Regions from separate parts of the Homo sapiens genome. Here all the other regions are linked to region 4. Evidence: promoter capture Hi-C in 16 types of primary human blood cells and fetal thymus (Javierre and others, 2016). All regions are on one chromosome and are shown on one strand. The core of a region is centred on a gene start or on the middle of the fragment in contact, and the rest is flanking DNA. Distances in the headings are between cores, read along the strand shown. Region 1 overlaps ACIN1 (apoptotic chromatin condensation inducer 1). Region 2 overlaps C14orf93 (chromosome 14 open reading frame 93). Region 3 overlaps HAUS4 (HAUS augmin like complex subunit 4). Region 4 holds the start of IPO4 (importin 4).

Evidence for each region. The method cuts DNA at HindIII sites, captures the fragments that hold promoters and counts their contacts. A CHiCAGO score of 5 or more calls a contact.
Region 1: a contact is called between a fragment that was not itself captured here and the fragment with the promoter of IPO4 in region 4, in 1 of 17 cell types (monocytes). The highest score is 6.4, in monocytes.
Region 2: a fragment that was not itself captured here is called in contact with the fragment with the promoter of IPO4 in region 4 in 1 of 17 cell types (activated CD4 T cells); the score reaches 6.5 in activated CD4 T cells.
Region 3: a fragment that was not itself captured here is called in contact with the fragment with the promoter of IPO4 in region 4 in 1 of 17 cell types (monocytes); the score reaches 5.7 in monocytes.

What each region holds. Positions count from the first base shown.
Region 1 is chr14:23,080,736-23,083,435 of GRCh38, reverse strand. It overlaps ACIN1 (apoptotic chromatin condensation inducer 1), which reads left to right. Exons shown (of 19, transcript NM_001386863.1): 5 at 1,600-1,688; 6 at 2,627-2,700. It overlaps LOC124903288 (a long non-coding RNA gene), which reads right to left. Exons shown (of 2, transcript XR_007064077.1): 2 at 1,222-2,700. Among named protein-coding and RNA genes, the nearest start is that of ACIN1, 13 kb to the left of the region's middle. The HindIII fragment of the contact is 1,808 bases long and covers 350-2,157 here.
Region 2 is chr14:23,005,676-23,008,375 of GRCh38, reverse strand. All of the region lies in intron 1 of C14orf93 (chromosome 14 open reading frame 93), which reads left to right. LOC124903286 (a long non-coding RNA gene) reads right to left here. Exons shown (of 2, transcript XR_007064075.1): 2 at 1-1,808. Among named protein-coding and RNA genes, the nearest start is that of C14orf93, 3.1 kb to the left of the region's middle. RefSeq lists enhancers at 1-432, 1,366-1,735 and a silencer at 1,156-1,205. The HindIII fragment of the contact is 3,706 bases long and covers 1-2,700 here.
Region 3 is chr14:22,949,106-22,951,848 of GRCh38, reverse strand. HAUS4 (HAUS augmin like complex subunit 4) reads left to right here. Exons shown (of 10, transcript NM_001166269.2): 5 at 160-294; 6 at 1,439-1,535. All of the region lies in intron 2 of PRMT5-DT (PRMT5 divergent transcript), which reads right to left. Among named protein-coding and RNA genes, the nearest start is that of MIR4707, 6.6 kb to the left of the region's middle. The HindIII fragment of the contact is 1,784 bases long and covers 376-2,159 here.
Region 4 is chr14:24,187,495-24,190,219 of GRCh38, reverse strand. IPO4 (importin 4) reads left to right here and starts at 1,404. Exons shown (of 30, transcript NM_024658.4): 1 at 1,404-1,501; 2 at 1,582-1,668; 3 at 1,797-1,876; 4 at 1,963-2,004; 5 at 2,424-2,553; 6 at 2,641-2,725. The coding sequence starts at 1,433. TM9SF1 (transmembrane 9 superfamily member 1) reads left to right here. Exons shown (of 6, transcript NM_006405.7): 6 at 412-1,071. The coding sequence ends at 805. RefSeq lists silencers at 1,833-1,952, 2,198-2,408. The HindIII fragment of the contact is 6,803 bases long and covers 1-2,612 here.

The sequences.
Region 1 (2,700 bases), core at 4-2,503, 1.1 Mb after region 4:
ATTCTGGTAGGAAATTTGGAAATCATCTAGTGCAGCCCCTCCTTTTTCTCAATCATGACATTTGAGACTCGGGCACAGTGGTTTATACCTTAATCTCAGCACTTTGGGAGGACCGGGGTGGGAGGATTACTTGAGCCCTGGAGGCTGAGGCTGCAGTGAGCCATGATCATGCCACTGCACTCCAGCCTGGGTGACAGAGTAAAACACTGTCTAAAAAGAAAGATATTGAGACCCAAATTACTTAAGTGATTTACCCAGTTACCTTCCTTCATGGAATTTGAGTGAAACTTTCTTTCCGTTTTACATGGATTTATTGTTCAGGATAACCTAGATTGGTGGTTTCCAAGCTTTTTAATAGAACTTTTTTTTTCCTTAAAAAAAAAAAAAATCTCACCTAGTCCGGGTGCGGTGACTCACGCCTGTAATTCCAGCACTTTGGGAGGCCAAGGCGGGGGGATTGCTTGAGCCCAGGAGTTCGAACCAGCCTAGGCAACATGATGAAACCCCGCCTCTGTAAAAAATACCGAAATTAGCCAGGTATGGTGGCGTGCGCCTGCAGTCCCAGCTGCCCGGTAGGCTGAAGCAGGAGAATCGCTTGAACCTGGGAGGCGGAGGTTGTGGTGAGCCTAGATCATGCCATTGCACTCCATCCTGGGCAACAAGAGCAAAACTCTGTCTCAAAAAAAAAAAAAGAAAAACATGTGAGCTCATGCCTGTAATCCCAGCACTTTGGGAGGCCAAGGCGGGCAGATCACTTGAGGTCAGGAGTTTGAGACCAGCCTGTCCAACAGGATGAAACCCCATATCTACTAAAAATACAAAAATTAGCCAGGCATGGTGGTGGGCACCTGTAATCCCAGCTACTCAGGAGGCTGAGGCATGAGACTGGTTTGAAGCCAGGGGGCAGAGGTCGCAGTGAGGCGAGATTGCACCACTGCATCCAGCCTGGGTGACAGAGTGAGACTCCATCTCAGAAAAAAAAAAAAAAAAAAAAAAAATATTGAGCTCTAATACATAAAACCTAATAGACAGGACCCAATTCTGAAACCCCATCCAGTTGGCTTGAAGTAATTTCAGGAACTTTAGGGCGCTGAAAAACATTCCTCTAAGTATTTATTTCTTGAGTTTGTTATTGTGCAAATTCATATATTTCATCATAATATTTTGGTTGAAATTAGAAAGTAGTAGTAATAGGCAATCCAAAAAAATGGATACAGAACATAATGAAGTCTTAAACTTTATTCAGAGTAAGAACACTTTGTAGAAATAAGTACACTTCATATTTGTACATCCCTGCTAGACAGTTTGAAGCCCCTGGAAATTATTTTACATTTATTTGAGTTATTTATAACATGTGAATTGGCTTCGAGGTGTTGAAAATATTCTAGACTTGCACACCAAGAATTACCAATAAGACCCTGACCTAGTTAGGGCTTTTTGTAGTCTTTTCTTTAGTGTAGAAGTCAAAGAAACCGATACAGATATGTCTTGATAGGCTCATATGCTATAATTGGTTGGATATTAGAAAGCCTGATTTTTAAAAAGCCATGAATGAGTCTTCACTTCATGAATCTGACTTGATTCTTTTTCATTCAATAGGAAAAAGCTCCTCAATTTCTGAAGAGAAAGGTGACTCTGATGATGAGAAACCAAGGAAAGGAGAAAGACGATCATCTAGGGTCAGACAGGTAACTCAGATACCTCCTAAAGCATTACCTCTTCAGTAATGCTTTGGATATCTTCTCTTCTTCAGACTTGTTTTGAGTTTGTATGTCTCTACATTTAGGGGTTTTGTTTTTCTTTTTTGGGACAGAGTCTGGCTCTGTCGCCTAGGCTGGAGTGCAGTGGCACAATCACAGCTTACTACAGCCTCGACCTCCTAGGCTTAAGCAGTCCTTCCACCTCAGCCTCCCAAAGGATTGGGATTACAGGCATGAGCCACTGCCTGGCCTCTAGATTTCTTTGTGGTTATCTTCCTTCTCCTCTTTGTCATCTTTTTGTTGTTCGTTTTGTCTTTTTATTTAGATCTGCTCTGCCTTTTAGATTTCTAAGTGAATATTTTTTAAAAGTTTAAATTTGAAAATTAGCAGGCTGCTCTGTATTCTTAAAGCACATTATTAGACAAGATATGACATAATTAACCATTCAATCAAAGCTTTAAAGTTATATAACACTAAGTGGGCAGAATACAAAAATGTTATGTGTAGTGTAATTATGACTGTACAAAGGAAATGATTAGAGGAAAGAACAAAAAGAAATATACCAAAATGATAAAAAGATAATCGTATTAATTGATAGTAGGTTAGTTCCTTTCAGCCCCCTATCCACCCTTTTACTTTCCAGATGTTCTGCTAATATTTTACTGAAAAAAAAAAAAAGGGGGTGCTTGAAGCTAAAATTTAAACTACATACAAGTAGCTTCATTGTGATATTTCTTTTGGTCACTTTGTTTTGATTCCCCTAAGGGCTACGTTAGTCATGATTGTCTCCTGTCACTCCTGTTTCTGTTGCTGAAAGTATATATCATTGAATTTCTCCTTCCTAGGGGTGTCTTCATTAGATACTTTCTCTCCTCTGTTGACTGTGAGCAAATACATTTGGAGCCATTGTGTATCTGTTCTTTCAGGCAAGAGCAGCTAAACTGTCTGAGGGCAGCCAACCTGCTGAGGAGGAAGAGGATCAAGAAACACCTTCCAGAAA
Region 2 (2,700 bases), core at 201-2,700, 1.2 Mb after region 4:
AACAAAAGTGGCCCTGTTTGGGCTTTCTGGGTTTCTTACTTGTGCTGAGTGTATTTTTATTCTCTAACAATTCAAGTCAGACCAGTGCTTAATAAATACTGGCTCGACTGTGGATTATTCCACAATTTCAGACCTGCATTTCTTTGAAATCTAGTCACATTTTAGTGATCTTTGTGATCACAACAGTGATGGGAGTTTTTTTTTTTTTTTTTTTTTTTTTTGAAACGGAGTTTCGCTCTTGTTGCCCAGGCTGCAGTGGCAATGGTGCGATCTTGGCTCACTGCAACCTTCGCCTCCTGGGTTCAAGCGATTCTCCTGTCTCGGCCTCCCGAGTAGCTGGGATTACAGGCATGTGCCACCATGCCGGGCTGATTTTTGTATTTTTAGTAGAGACGGGGTTTCACCATGTTGGTCAGGCTGGTCTCCAACTCCTGACTTTAGGTGATCCGCCCGCCTCTGCCTCTCAAAGTGCTGGGATTACAGGCGTGAGCCACCGCGCCCGGCCAGTTACGGGAATTTTTAATGGAGTTTTACCCTTTTTAGCTCTTTTCCACATCACTACAGGTCATCACATATACTTTTTACCTTACTTTTTAGCGTCTCAAAAAATAGGGAGAGCTCTCCCTGAACAGTGCAGAGCCCGTATCCCTGATTTCCTAGGCTATTTGATTTCTACATCCAGGAACGTAGGGTCATATCCACTGTTCTTGCTTTTTCTTCCTAAGAAAGGAGAGAATTCCTCGCACATATATATCGTTGGCTTGGCCTTCCAAAGCAAAGCAAAACTAAACTCTGTTGATTTTGCCTGGGAATCCTCGGGGCCCCTAGTATTGGAAACTTCTTTGAACTGTGAGGAGCTGCTAATTTGCAGGTGACATGTGAAAGAAATGTAACCGAGGCCAGCAGTAACTAAAAGTCGGCCACCACCCAACGTGTGACGCCGATTTGTGGCCACTGTGCTTATAATCGTGTACACACAGGTTTGTGAGCAGCAGAGAACAAAAGCAAGTAAACAAAAACAAGCTAAAGATGGCGTCTGACGGCCTTGAAAAAGCCTCACAGTCTTGTCCCTCCCTGAGGAGGCCCCTCCCCTACCTGACTTTTTGAGTGACTGTTGTTTGCAGCCAATAGTGTCCGTGACCCTGCTCCCCAGCCATCGTCTAACCGCCAATCACCGGGAGCCAGAAGGCAAACGGGGCGGTGTCTCCCCGCGTGCGCGCGGTAGCCGGGTACACGGGCAGGCGCCGCGGATAGTTCTGTCTCCCGCGCGCCCGCCTCCGCCTCTGCCTAGCTGAGTCAGCCCGTGCGGTAGCGCCAGGCACACGCGGTAGAACATCTGTAGGGCTGCAAAGCTGCACCTCCGCGTCAGTTCTCACGGCGAGCGCCGCCTTCAGCCCAAGTTCTCAAAGCTCTCGGGGCTACGTAGTCTACCCTCCCCGGTGACCCGGCGAGATCCCTAGCCGCTCCTCCGGCCGCTCTGCTCTCCGCATCCCTCGCGGGAATGACCCCCTTTACCCGGGACTCCCAGAGCGCACTGTATGGTAGGGCACAGTGGCGAGTCACCCTGTCCCCTGAGGCCTCTTGAGCAGTCGCCGATCTCTGCTTCCCGCGTCGCTGCGATCGCCTTTCCCGTAGCTGAATCACACTGACCCATCGGAAACGGTTCTGCCCTCCCTGGGGTCCACCTTGTCATCCTTGACTAATATTTAATCAACTAACATTTACCAAGTTCTCGCTGGCACGAGTTCTAGGAGCTACTTTTTCATTTTTCAGTTTCTCCATAAATGCAGTGGGTCCTTTAGGCAAACCTGAAATCGGAAATATTAATCTTACCAATGTAATCTTAGCAAATGTAAATAAAAAGGACTGTGCTATACTGGGCTAAAAATTCTCATCCTGCTATAGAAATATACGTGGAATTTTCAGATTACGTGGAATCCTTTAAAGACCGCATTCGGCCTTCTGGGTCTACAGCTCTCTTTTTTACCCCTAAAAATAAGGTCTTGGATTTTTTGCAGACCATTAGTCGAGTCACTCTTTTAAAATGTGGGAAAATAGTATTTTGTGGTATTTACTTAGCTGCTCTTGTGTGATAAGGAGCTCATTTCTGATAAAAATAGGTTTTGAGAGAACCTTTTGACAGGTGAGCCATTTTGCACCTTGAAGTGGAGGAGTAGGACTGACCAACACAGCAGGAGCTTTAAGTGGCCGTTTTCCTTATTTATTTCTTAAAATGAAGATTATGATATGAATTGCCATGCTTTCAGTAATCACATTTAAGGAAGTCTATTGCTAGCATGACCCTGAATGAGTCAAGCACCCATTATAAAAACATATATCATCTGAGTGATACCATATCATACACATCTATTAAATAGTGAGAAAACTTTTATTTTTCATAGTTTGGAGGTGAACTCAGTCATGCAGAAAATTCAAACTCAGAATGGGGAGAAAGCAAGCAAGGGAACTGCCAAGAGTATGATATATTTAGTCCTAACAAAAATGTGACTTGGGAGGAAAGGGATAGTTAAAATTATGGACAGTCTTACCCTGAACTGTCTGTCTAAAGGAGATGAATTGTCTTTCTTTTTTATCTAAATATTTATGAAAAATACCAAAAGTACTGGAAAGTACATTTTTAAGGCTCGTTTCACATTTATTTAAATTAGACCAATACTGAAATGAACCCCAAATGCTTAT
Region 3 (2,743 bases), core at 18-2,517, 1.2 Mb after region 4:
AACATTGACAGAAGTCACTCGCAGCTGAGTTATCTGAGGGGGGATGATATATTTGAGGACTTTGAAAATATGTGAAAAACTGGTTCATAAGGATGGAAGAGGTGGAGTGGGAGAAGTTTTATAGTTGCCTCTTTTTGTTTTTTATTCTCTCTCTCTCAGTTTCATGAGACCCTTGAACAGCGGCTGCTTGTAACTGAACTGATGCGGCTCTTAGGTCCTAGCCAGGAGAGGGAGATACCTCCACTGCTGGGGCTGGAGAAAGCGGACCTTCTGGAACTCATGCCACTCTCAGAGGTTGGCGGGGAGATATTGGAACCAAATAAATGAAATGGTTTAATTTCTCCCATATCTTTAAAATGTTTTTTTTGTCAAGCTTTATTGTTTTTGTAAAAATGATACACATTCAGGGTGGTCAGACTCAAATAAGAAAAACGTTACACAGGAGCAAGTAAAAGCTGAAATACTGCATCTAGAAGCACAATATTATTATAAACAGCTTGACATAAATGGTATTATACCCTTCATGCTTATATAGAGAGTATAAGGCCGAGTGTAGTGACTTCCGCCTATAATCGTAGCACTTTGGGAGGCTGAGGTGGGAGGATCACTTGAGTTCAGGAGTTCAAGACCAGCCTGGGCAACATAGTGAGACCTCGTCTCTACCAAAAAAAAAACAAAACAAAAGCCAGGTTTGGTGGTGCACACCTGTAGTCCCAGCTACTCGGGAGACAGAGGCAGGAGGATGACTTGAGGGTGGGAGGTCAAGGCTGTAGTGAGCTGTGATCATGCCACTGTACTCCAGCCTGGGCACAGAGTGAGACCCTGTCTCAAAAAAAGAAAAGTACAGTCTATTTTCATGTAATATATTTTGGATTTCTTTTCAAGTCAATACATAAATGTAAATAAGATGATAGCTTCTATAGCACTGTTAGCAAAGTATCTAGGCACATAGTGCTTAGTGTTATGTCATCAGTTTAAATCTCTGCTAGGATTCTATTATATGGATGTAGAATAATTTGCTTAACCTTATTGGTGGATATTAAGGTTGTTTCCACATTTTTGCTGTTAGAAACCACAGGGAGATGAACATGCTGGTTCATATGTGTCTTTACCTTTGTATGATTATTTCTGTAATGCTGGTGCTAAAAGTGGGATTCCTGAGTCAGTGCATACTCATACAGAATATTGGTACCTAATGCCAAACTGCTATCCAGAAAGGTATTTTCAGGGCTCCTGGATCCCCCATGTTCTCACCAACATGGGGTCTTGACAGTCATTTTATTCTTCGCTAATTTGATAGGTGAAAAATGAGTCTCTCTGATGTCTCTTGATGCATTTTCTTTGGCTATTATTGAGGTTATCATCATGTATTCATTGGCTGAGACGTCCTAGTTTTTACAGTCTATTCGCATTTCTGCCTTTACTTCTATGACTGTAGGATTTTGTGTGGATGAGGGCTCGGCTACAGCAAGAAGTAGAGGAGCAGCTCAAAAAGAAATGTTTCACTCTGCTCTGCTACTATGATCCCAATTCAGGTGAGTGCTAGCTGTCTGTTCTGCTCACAGCTGGACTTCAGGGTTCCTGGTCTGCTCTTTTGAGAATAATATATTTTGATTTTAGATTTGGGACAGAGGTTTAGAACCATCAGAGATGCTTATTTGTTTTGTTGCTGGTAGAATAAAAACAAGGACTTTTTGTTTTTTTGTTTTTTTTTTTTTTTGAGATGGCGTTTTGCTCCTGTTGCCCAGGCTAGAGTGCAATGGCGCCATTTCTGTTCACCGCAAGCTCCTCCTCCTAGATTCAAGTGATTCTCCTGCCTCAGCCTCCCGAGTAGCTGGGATTACAGGCATGCGCCACCCCGCTCGGCTAATTTTGTATTTTTAGTAGAGATGGGGTTTCTCCATGTTGATTAGGCTGGTCTGGAACTCCCAACCTCAGGTGATCCGCCTGCCTCGGCATCCCAAAGTGCTGGGATTACAGGTGTGAGCCACCACACCCGGCCAAAACAAGGACCTTTGTAAGGACTCTTTTTATTCAGCAAGATACTGAGTGGGAGTGTCCTCCTGCTGCAGGGAAGGATGAGTTCTCTCAGGAGGTTCAGAATGGTTTAGGGAGGAAAGTTCAGACTCATAGAACACCTTATACTCTCTGTATAAGCTTGGAGGGTATAATACCATTTATGTCAAGCTGTTTATAATAATGTGTTTCTAGACGTAGTATTCATATTTCAGCTTTTACTTGCTTCTGTGTAATGATTTTCTTATTTGAGTCTGACCACCCTGAATGAATGTGTATCTCTTTTTTTTTTTTTTTTTTTTTTGAGACGAAGTCTCGCTCTGTCCCCCAGGCTGGAGTGCAGTGGCGCAGTCTCACCTCACTGCAAACTCCACCTCCTAGGTTCACGCCATTCTCCTGCCTCAGCCTCCCGAGTAGCTGGGACTACAGGTGCCCGCCACCACGCCTGGCTAATTTTTTGTATTTTTAGTAGAGACGGGGTTTCACCGTGTTAGCCAGGATGGTCTCAGTCTCCTGACCTCATGATCTACCCACCTTGGCCTCCCAAAGTGCTGGGATTACAGGCGTGAGCCACTGTGCCTGGCCCTGAATGTGTATCATTTTTACGAAAATAATAAAGCTTAACACCTGAGTCTGAACTTTCCTCCCTAAACCATTTCTTTTTTTTTTTTTTTTGAGACGGAGTTTCATTCTTGTCGCCCAGGCTGGAGTGCAATGGCGTGATCTC
Region 4 (2,725 bases), core at 155-2,654:
CTTGAATGATATGAGAGTGTCTCACTTATAAAGCTCTCCGGAGACATTTCCCCCTTCACCTTCCTGGTTTCTGACTTTAATGCCTATGGACATCATGTGGGGTTTAAAGCCCATTTGATGACCCATTTACTTTGTTGAATACCTCTTTGTGCCAGGCAAAGAATAAAGTGGAATAAAATGGACAAGATCCCTGCCCTCAATCTATTAGGGAAGATATTCTTGAAGTGAGAGCGGCTAATCATAGGCAAAAAATCCCCATGAAGCCAGGAGATCTGGGGCAGAGAGTGGAGTGAACTCACTTTTCACAATGACCCAGCAACATGGGAGAGGGTGGGGGCTGGATTTCAGCCCAGCCACTGTGCTGATGGTGCACAGCCCTTTAATGCTGTGTATCATCTCTTTTCTTCACAGTGCCATCTCTGTGGAGCTGTACTACATCTTTGCCACAGTATGGGGTCGGGAGCAGTACACTTTGTACGGCATCCTCTTCTTTGTCTTCGCCATCCTGCTGAGTGTGGGGGCTTGCATCTCCATTGCACTCACCTACTTCCAGTTGTCTGGGGAGGATTACCGCTGGTGGTGGCGATCTGTGCTGAGTGTTGGCTCCACCGGCCTCTTCATCTTCCTCTACTCAGTTTTCTATTATGCCCGGCGCTCCAACATGTCTGGGGCAGTACAGACAGTAGAGTTCTTCGGCTACTCCTTACTCACTGGTTATGTCTTCTTCCTCATGCTGGGCACCATCTCCTTTTTTTCTTCCCTAAAGTTCATCCGGTATATCTATGTTAACCTCAAGATGGACTGAGTTCTGTATGGCAGAACTATTGCTGTTCTCTCCCTTTCTTCATGCCCTGTTGAACTCTCCTACCAGCTTCTCTTCTGATTGACTGAATTGTGTGATGGCATTGTTGCCTTCCCTTTTGCCCTTTGGGCATTCCTTCCCCAGAGAGGGCCTGGAAATTATAAATCTCTATCACATAAGGATTATATATTTGAACTTTTTAAGTTGCCTTTAGTTTTGGTCCTGATTTTTCTTTTTACAATTACCAAAATAAAATTTATTAAGAAAAAGGCTCATGCAGTTGGAGGTTTTGGTCTGGATATAGGAACTCGAGCCCTGCTGTTAAGGGCACGGTCCTTTATAAAGCCGAGCTGGCCACTGAATGCCCGAAGCTCGAGTTCTCCAACCCAGCTTGGGAACTCCCGGCGTGGGGAACCTACATTGCCAGAGTCGGGTTTCCGCGATTCAGCCGGTGCTCAGCCTAACGGAAGTGGAGGAGCCGGACCTCTTTGTGGGAAGCGAATTGAATCACCTTGGCAACCCGCGGGGCGTGCAGCAACGCCCTTTCCTCCGGAAGTGGGTGTCAGAACCTCCACGTGCTGTCCCTCCCCCTCCCCTTTTCGGCCCAGTAGCGGCGGCTCAGTTGCTGCCATGGAGTCAGCCGGGCTAGAGCAGCTCCTACGGGAGCTGCTGCTACCGGACACCGAGCGCATCCGTCGGGTACGGAGCAGGCGTAACCGGGCCAGGGCGAGCGGGAGGTTGCGGGAAAGGCCCAACTCTCACCCCTAGCTTCCCCCCAGGCCACGGAACAGCTCCAGATCGTTCTTCGGGCCCCCGCCGCTTTGCCGGCTCTCTGCGACCTGCTAGCCTCGGCGGCCGACCCCCAGGTGAGACCCCTGACTCTCCCCTCCGAGCTTCCCACTGTACGCCACCGGTCAAGCCCCAGTATTCGCCCACTGCGGTCCGCTCAGCACCTTCCTGCCCGGACCCCCACGTGCTTGCTTCCTCGTCCTAGATCCGCCAGTTTGCGGCCGTGCTGACCCGCAGACGACTGAACACCCGCTGGCGACGGCTGGCGGCGGAGCAACGGGAGAGGTGGGCTGGGCCTGGGGTGGGGCGGGGCCAGGCGGAGACTTTTCTTGGGCAGGCTGGGTACCAAACACCTGCCACCTGTGTTCCAGCCTCAAGTCCCTGATCCTGACGGCCCTGCAGAGAGAAACAGAGTAAGTACCTACCCACTTCTCTCGGGATCTTGACGACTTTGTCTAGGTTTCTGCCTTCCTTTTCGGCTCCAGGCTGGGACTTGTGGGGCAGGGACTTCAGTTCTAGACGCAAGGTGGAGTGAGGATTTTAAGGCTGTTTTGAAGACTAAAGTTCTTGAGGAAGGGTGATGATGATCTGCCAAACCCAAGTCAGAAGAATAAGACTGAAATTCAGGCTAAGTTAGACTGAACTTACCAGATTACATGCCCACAGTGCTGTTGGGCTCCCTCTGAGCTGCTGTCTCATGTGTCCCAACTTGGCAAAGACCCTGTGCCCACACCTCCTGAAAGTTTCTGTCCTGGCTGCCCCATTGAGCCTGGCCACTGTGTGCAGAGGAAGGTATTGAAGGGTGATTGGAGGAGATCTCTCCTGTTTGCAGGCACTGTGTGAGCCTCAGCCTGGCCCAGCTCTCAGCCACCATTTTTCGAAAGGAAGGCTTGGAGGCCTGGCCACAGCTTTTGCAGCTGCTTCAGCACAGTACCCACAGCCCCCACAGCCCAGAGAGAGAGGTACCATCACATGGTTGGCAGGAGGGAGGGCCTGAGAGGCTGGATAGACCTTGTAAGCTTGCTCTCCCATCCTCTATTCTTGGACAGATGGGGCTTTTGCTGCTAAGTGTGGTGGTGACCTCCCGGCCCGAGGCCTTCCAACCCCACCACCGGGAGCTTCTTCGGCTTCTGA